Linked DNA regions of Homo sapiens: all the other regions are linked to region 1. The links are contacts of gene promoters, found by promoter capture Hi-C in blood cells and fetal thymus (Javierre and others, 2016). All regions are on one chromosome and are shown on one strand. The core of a region is centred on a gene start or on the middle of the fragment in contact, and the rest is flanking DNA. Distances in the headings are between cores, read along the strand shown.

The links. Contacts are between HindIII fragments. The CHiCAGO score rates a contact against its expected background, and 5 or more counts as called.
Region 2: a contact is called between a fragment that was not itself captured here and the fragment with the promoter of GNAI3 in region 1, in 14 of 17 cell types (naive CD8 T cells, non-activated CD4 T cells, erythroblasts and 11 more). The highest score is 11.3, in naive CD8 T cells.
Region 3: a contact is called between a fragment that was not itself captured here and the fragment with the promoter of GNAI3 in region 1, in 1 of 17 cell types (M1 macrophages). The highest score is 5.3, in M1 macrophages.

Annotation. Positions count from the first base shown.
Region 1 is chr1:109,547,343-109,549,882 of GRCh38, reverse strand. GNAI3 (G protein subunit alpha i3) reads right to left here and starts at 1,268. Exons shown (of 9, transcript NM_006496.4): 1 at 1,045-1,268. The coding sequence starts at 1,162. RefSeq lists enhancers at 982-1,151, 1,682-1,741. The HindIII fragment of the contact is 6,158 bases long and covers 1-2,540 here.
Region 2 is chr1:109,790,057-109,792,596 of GRCh38, reverse strand. No RefSeq gene overlaps it. Among named protein-coding and RNA genes, the nearest start is that of EPS8L3, 27 kb to the right of the region's middle. RefSeq lists an enhancer at 1,378-1,437. The HindIII fragment of the contact is 1,887 bases long and covers 322-2,208 here.
Region 3 is chr1:109,724,575-109,727,114 of GRCh38, reverse strand. No RefSeq gene overlaps it. Among named protein-coding and RNA genes, the nearest start is that of GSTM5, 14 kb to the right of the region's middle. The HindIII fragment of the contact is 769 bases long and covers 895-1,663 here.

The DNA of each region.
Region 1 (2,540 bases), core at 19-2,518:
TCAAAAATTTTGAAACTCATGTTGAGTAAAATACATCCGACTGTGTTTAAAAAAAGCCAATTAAAACGACTATCAAATAACATAAACAGTAATTCCTGAAGTCAATGGTTTTGCTTTGAAGAGGCCAAAAAGGATAAAACAGCCACCAGAAGTCTACCATAGTCTTTACAGTGAATATGTCCAACTCTGTAACTTATCCTAAGGTAACTATTCCAACTACACATCATCTATAGCAACTATTCAGCATCCTCCAATGTGTAATCTCTTGTTCACTAGATCTTCTGCTACAAACCTCAAAGAAATCATTCTTTAAATTTCTTCAGCTCACACCATTTCCCATCCTTTTGTAAAAACAGAAGAAGACGTTATAAAACTTTGAAAATAAAAATGATAGGAAACGGTGGAAAAGTAGAGATGGCCTCTGCACCCAAGCTCTTTTCCTTTATACCTGATAACTTGTCATTTATCTCACCTACCTATCTTCATGTTCCTGGATAATCCAGGGTTCTTCCAACAGTTCAAATGGCTCTCTTACTAACAAATGTCAACGTCCTTATGTGACCATTCTGTTCCAGTCTCTGTACCATCCATTCAAGCCTGCTAGCTTTATCCTGCCAAAGAACCACGACGCTCCAAACTCACAAACCATTATACAAGCCCAACATATACTCTATGCCGTTCTCGTTACCAACACGCTCCAACCCAACGTAAAACCTTCCTAGTATCAACTCTTCCTTTATGAGCTTTTCCCATATTCCTACTCCCTCAACATCTACCGGCCCATACTCCCAAGTCTCTCTGCTAAACGCAATTCTAGCCCGGAGTCACACCCTCTACAGCCTAATTCCCGCAACCCCAAAACCCCACCCCCCTCATCACGCCCTCTGGGGCCTCAGCTAGGAACCCCAACACCCCGCCCCACGCCCGGCACGCCCTCCAGATCCCTTTAGGGTCCTTTCCGTCGGCCCGACCAGACCCCGTTCAGGCCTTCCAAGCGCCTAGGCTCTCCCGACCACCACTCAGTCCCCGCCTCCAGCCCCTCACCGAGTAGCAGCAGCTTCACTTCTTTGGCCGCTTTTTCCCCGTCCTCCCGTAAGTTGCGGTCGATCATCTTGCTTCGCTCCACTGCCGCCTTGTCTTCGGCGCTCAACGTGCAGCCCATGGCGGCGGCGGGAGAGGGGACACGGGCCCGGACTCACTCACACCACGGAAACTGCGGCTCGGCAGGCTGAGGCACCGTCTATTGCTGGGCGGTGGCCCTCTCCGTCAGCTCCCTTAGCGCCCAGAAGAACCGGATATCCGACGTTTACGACACTTCCGGCGACGCCCCGCAGCCTTCACCGTTTAAACCACTCTCCTCAGGGAGAGGAGTTGAGACCGAAAGCGGAAGTCACGGGGAGCTGGCGGCTGGGTTGGGCGGCGGATCTGCAGAGTTTCGAGGTTCTGTCAAGTTCGCTGCCCGCCGCCCAACTTGAAGCCTCATTTACCTTTCGGCTACCTGATTTGGATAAATGGAGAAAAACCGGGGCCTCTAACTCATAATGCCCTCCCGCGTTCAAGATGCCAGTTTTGGGGCGGAGATTTCTAAATTAAAGCCTACATCCCGCGCGGGAATATCTGCTGGTAATTTCTCGCCTGCCAGAAAACTCCTTTGATCTCTGGCTGTGGAGACTCGGGACCCCTACCCAAGTATGGGACACTGCCTCCGTTGGGGTTATCTCAGATCAATGGAATGGGAACAAGCTATCCGGCCTGGGCGCCGTTCACGTCTCACATCTGAGATCGTAACACCGACTGTGCTTAGGACCTCAGCAATAACTTTTTGCCGTCTCTGGCCCACTGACTCCTCTCAAAATGTCCCCTGGTCCTTTTGCTATTCACGTATTTCTGTGGGCTTGAGATTTGCTTAACTCCTATATTGGCAAAAGGCCACTTGAAATCGCTAGCAGATACTCGATAACCTGAAAGGTAAGCCTGTAGTTCCTCCATAAAATTTCCATGCTGCCCTTCTCTCCAGTATAATTCAGATCTTCCTACCTTAGGGTCTTAGAACTAAAACCAAGATAAGTCAACTTCAATTCCACACCCCGAAACAAACCAGTGCATCCTGTGAATCTCCTACTAAAATTTCCTGTTGCGATAACATGCAAAAGGAGAGGTTCTAGTAAAATTTGCCTCTCAGCCCTAGTATCACCTGAAACTTAAGTCCACTGTGAAAGTCCCAGGCAGATAGCATCTTTCACTAATAACCCTGGATACTGCGTGAAGGTAGTCCTAAATCAACTTTTCAGGCAAATAAGCCCACAATTACTATACGTTCTAGCGAAGGGAACTCAGTCCCTAAAACCTTTCCCTGTGATTGTAAATTTATTTCTCTAATAGAATCTGAACTTGAGAAAGTAAGGTCCCAACAGAGAGGTTTATATAGTGATGATTCATTAATTAGAAGGATTTAATTAGAGGATTAGAGCCACCTTAAAAAGCCTCGTCCACCTTAACTCTTAGCAATGCCAATTCTTCAAGGTTTGAAAAGTCCCCCA
Region 2 (2,540 bases), core at 16-2,515, 240 kb before region 1:
CAATTCCGTCTGAAAGTTTCTGGAGGGGGCCAGGTCTTGCCACTCTGAGAGTCTTAAAACCCCAGCCCAGAGAACGGCTTCTAAAGGAGGCCTGGGAGAGTGGGAGTGGGGGATGAGGTGTAGGAGGGTGGAGATGAAGCTGAGGTGGAGGGGTCATTAATTCAGCAGCTCTGCCACTTGGTACCAGCCCCCAGGGCAGCGGCTCCAGTTGTCCTGTGGGGCCAGGACGCTGTTTCTGCTGAGTCATCCTTTCTTGCCCAGAGGGATCCTGGCCCCAAGCCACATTCCTAGTGGGGTCTGAGTGCTGCAGAGTAGGAAGCTTCCTTTCTCACCAGCCCCCAGCGCTCCAGCCATGCAAACAGGCTGGTCTCTCAGCAGCCTCTGCCGGCAGCGAACATGCTTCTCCGTTTGTCTGCATTCCCCCAGCCCCCCAGCCCACCTGGATCCCAAGTTCTGGGAGCTAAAAACACTCCCCAGGGAGGTACAGGAGGCGAGGCTGGCCCTAACAGGAGGGGGCCAAAGGGAGATTAAGGAACGATTTTAAATTTCTGCCTTCCTACAAGGGGCCCTCCCGCTGTAGGGGTCCAATAGCCCCACTGAAAAGGGCTGAATCTCAGCCCAAAGGCAGAGGCAGCAACCCCAACCTCTCTGTGTTGTGTGAAATGTCAGCGTCCCCAGACAAGCAAGGTAGCCACACCTGCGGAGCTCATGTATCAGGAACAGGCTAAGAACACCTACTATGTGCTAAGCACTGCTCTGGGCGCTGGCCTTGCAGCAGTGAGCAGGGCAGATGCGGCCCAGTCCCTGGCGTTTCTCCCAACCTTTCCAGTCCCACCACCGCTGCCTCCACTGGTGGTCTCCTCCCAGACTGCCCAGGTCCAAATCTTGGCTCCCCACTTCTAGCGATGGGATCTTGAGCAAGTTACTTTACCCCTCTGTGCCTCCATTGCCTCATCTGTAAAATGGGGTGAAGTAATGCCTACCTCATGGGAACGATGAGAGAGGTAAATGAGTTATTATGTGTAAAATGCTTAGAACAGTTTCTGGCACAGAGCTCAATTCTTTCCTGTGTGTTCTGAACTCTGTGCCTGGGCTCAGCCCTCTCTCCTCCTGGAATGCCCTGCCCCTCTTCTGGAACCCATAAGTCCAGCCTCTTCGCTGAGTTTCCAGGTGAGAAGACCAATTAGGGGCAGGCCCACAGTCAGCCCACAGCCTTACTAGGGCCACCAATACTGGCCGAGTGTTTTCCTGTTGCCAAGGGTTTTAAACAGCCCTGTGAGGTAGATAGGGGAGGGAATTCGGTGAGGGAAAGACACCCGCCTGAGGTTGCAGAACCAGCGAGTGTTGGATCTGAGAGTGGAACTTGGATCTTCTGACTGGAAGTAGCACTGCCTCTGTCCCACCTGGTGGCGTTGGTCCTAAGAAACCTTCAGATATCCTGAGGCTATCACCAGGGCCTCTGAAGCTAACCCAAGGCTCGGCACCCAGAAAATGGGGCCTTCCTAGCCCTTCAGAGGCCCTGGAGTCAGTTGAGCTTGTCTCAGAGCCAGCTGGGGTCCACGAAGGCCTCAAGACAGGGGGCGCTGGCTAGCAGAGCCCTGAGGAGGGCCCTGCAGGAAGAGCTCAGCGGAAACTCTGAGCAATGCTGGCAGCCACAGGCCTCTGGGCTTCCTGCACCCTCCACACAGGCTGCCCTGTCAACATCAATGTCAATGCGTTTGTGAAACCCTGCCGGGCAGGCAGTGGGAACTCAAGGGGCCCCAAGGGTTCATAGGCTGTGGTCACCCTGTTCCTTTGCAGCCCAGGAGAAGGTGGCTTTCTAAAGACTGCTGTCCACAGTGTAATGGGATGCAGCTGCTGCCGAAGACAGTTACCTGAAGGAGGCCCCACGGTCTCCTTAGGCCTTGGGCCTCCAGATCCCATGGCTTCTCCCTGCAGGTCCATATCTTCTGGGGTCCCCACAGATTCAGAGAACCCCCAGACAGAGCAATAGAGTGGACCTTGTGGTCGAAGGACTTTGGAGTGAAAGACATGTGGGTTATAAGCCCAATCCACAGCTTTGCTATCTGTGTGACTTTGGGAAAGTTAGTTAACCTCTCTGTAGAGAGCCTCAGTTTTCTCATCTGTAAAATGGTGACAGAAAGTACCTACCTTGTCCTGAAGATTAAATAAAACAATGTAAATGGGAGACCTGGCATACCATAAGCTTTTGATAAATAGGAACTGATGTTTTTGTGACCACTGAGTGATAGCAGATATTGGAGGTACAAATACTATTGCATTTCTTCGATTTGTATAATTTCAATTAAAACCATCCAGACCTAATTTACTATACTTGAAAGAAAAACATACCTTCCTCTGGAATCTTCCTCTCCTTTCAAATTGCCCAAGAACCTCCAGGTCTCATGTACTCAAAAAGTGGAGGGGGAGGTAGAGGCTCCAACTTCTGCACCTTGGCCAGGAGAACCAGGACGCTGACCCGTTCCCACTGAGGTGGCACCTGTGGATAACTGCTCCCACGTGGTCAGAAGGCTGAGTGT
Region 3 (2,540 bases), core at 30-2,529, 180 kb before region 1:
TGCATAACATGTGGAAAAGTCTGCACTGGAACTCTCTCTTCAGGAATTGTGCTCCAGACACATTTGGTGGCTAAGGCAGACTGGTGGTAAGTGGCCTCTGGGAGTGTTAATTGTTATACCAGATCTGAAAAGGGGCCACTACATGTTAGCATTTCCTCTGTAATGTGTCCTTGACCAGCGGTGCAATTCTGCCTAGCCTGGTCTGCTCACATTTCTTGCCAATTTAAACTCCATGTCAGATACGCACTGGCGGATAAGCGAGTGTGAGCCAAATGTTTTATATCAAAGGGTGGAAGGCACATGGCTCCAAACACTGATTCTAACAGCCCTATAGTAAATGGGCTTTGCCCTCTATTATTAACCACGCTAGCTTTTAATTCTTTTATAATTTAAACTCTACAAGAGTGTGTTCATGTAAAAGATGTTGTAGGTCATTCAGATCAGGCCTTACAGTAATAGGAAAAGCGCAAGGTCCTAAAGGTTCACCAGCCATAGCAGCAGCACGCAACATTTTTTATATGGGGGTTTCTGCTTCTGTTATTGGAGGGGGTGGCGGAGGCCAGTTCTCCTCTCCTTTTTCCTGCGTAGCAAGTGGCCAAATCTCCTCCCCTTTCTCCTGCTCATTATTTTCAATAGGCGCTGTCAGAGGAATAAATAATCTTTTTAATTCTTGAGACTCAGAACCTGACTCCTGTTGTCCGACAGAATTAGAAGGAGACAGCAGCAGTAGGATTGTGCAAACCAAACCCCAGGCAGAAAAAACAGAAGGGTCTACTTTAAGACCTTTTTGATGAGCCCGTTTCAATCCTTCTCCTATTCTGTCCCAATTTTCCACATCAAGATTGCCTGCCTGCAGAAACCATGGGTTATGCATAATAACCTCCTGCAGAAGCTTAGTTAATGTTTGCTAATTAACTTGAGCCCCAGGCTATTTCAACAGAACTTTAAGCAACTGCACATAATGTTTTTCTTCAAGAGACAAATTCTGCCCCATGTTACCCTGATTCAGAAAATTCCCATTCCCAGTACTTCTTTAGAGCACTGACCTTATATCCACTGCCAGCAGATTCATCCCAGGGTCCCTGTTCATCTGGTCAATTTCACTTCCTCTGCTCCAGCAGACCTTCTTTGTTCATGTCCTCAAGACCCTGTTTTCGGGCAGCACTTTGCTGTGGACCTTGCTGGACTGAACAAAGGAGGACCAAGGCGGGAATAAAGACAAAGACTGAAGAGTATGTTTTGAAGAAGGGGGTCAGGGGACTCCTTGCTTCTAGTGAACAAGGGCCCTGAGCTTTTAGAGTCCTTCATATTTATTGAGTAAAGGAGATAGGGAGAAGGGGATGGTTGTGGTCAGCTGCTTGACTTAGTGCAGGTCTGCATGACTGCATTATTTGAACAGTAGGCTCCAGATGTCCCAGTAGATAACCTCAAGGAGCACGGCACCAGGGAGTGATTACTCTCAGCATACCTTCTGGCGGCAGGCACAGATGCAAGTTTGCTCACATTCTGTATTCATGATAAACAGTTTGCTGTTTGATCATATAGCCTTCAGTGGAATGCTGAGTGGGTCACAACCCTCAGGCTTTCGGTTCCCAACACAATAATAATCTGTTTTCATTTGTAACAGGACACAGTTGGAGAAACTGGTTATTTTACCAAAGCTTTAACTTGAATGGTATGCTTTCCTTTAAGGAATCAAACTTGATTTATGGAGCCAATAAAGCCACTTGGGAAACTGGACTCATAGTTTTGTCCACCTGTGGTAGGTAAAGAATGTCACTTTCTGACAGGCCCAGGAGCCCCAAGTTTACTTTGGAACCTCAAGGGGAGAGGATCACCCAACTCATAGGTATTTAATGGCACAAATCCATGGCTGAGCTCAGCTTTAAAACAGTCTTATCTGAGATTCCTCCTGTGAACCCAGAAAATGTGAGACAAGTTCCAGAAAATCCGAGACAGGTCTGTCTTTCTTTCTTTCTTTCTTCCTTTCTTTCCCCTTCCCTTCCCTTCCCTTCCCTTCCCCTCCCTTCCCTTCCCTTCCCTTCCCTTCCTTTCTTTCATTTTTAGAGGGAGTTTTGCTCTGTCGCCCAGACTGGAGTGCAATGGCACAATCTCCGCTCACTGTAATCTCCACCTCCCAGGTTCAAGCGATTCTCCTGCCTCGGCCTACCAAGCAAGTAGCTGGGATTACAGGCATCTGCCACCATGCCCAGCTAAGTTTTGTATTTTTAGTAGAGACGAGGTTTCGCCATGTTGGCCAGGCTAGTCTTGGACTCCTCATCTCGGGTGATCCGCCTGCCTCAGCCTTTCAAAGTGCTGGGATTACAGGCGTGAGCCACCGTGCCCAGCCAGGTCTCAGTTAATTTAGAAAGTTTGTTTTGCCAAGGTTGAGGATGAATACCGGTGGCACAGCCTCAGGATGTCCTGACAACATGTGCCGCAGGTGTTCAGGGCACAGCTTGATTTTATACATTTTAGACAGACATGAAACATCAATTAATATGTATAAAGAACTACATTGGTTTGGTCTGGAAAGGTGG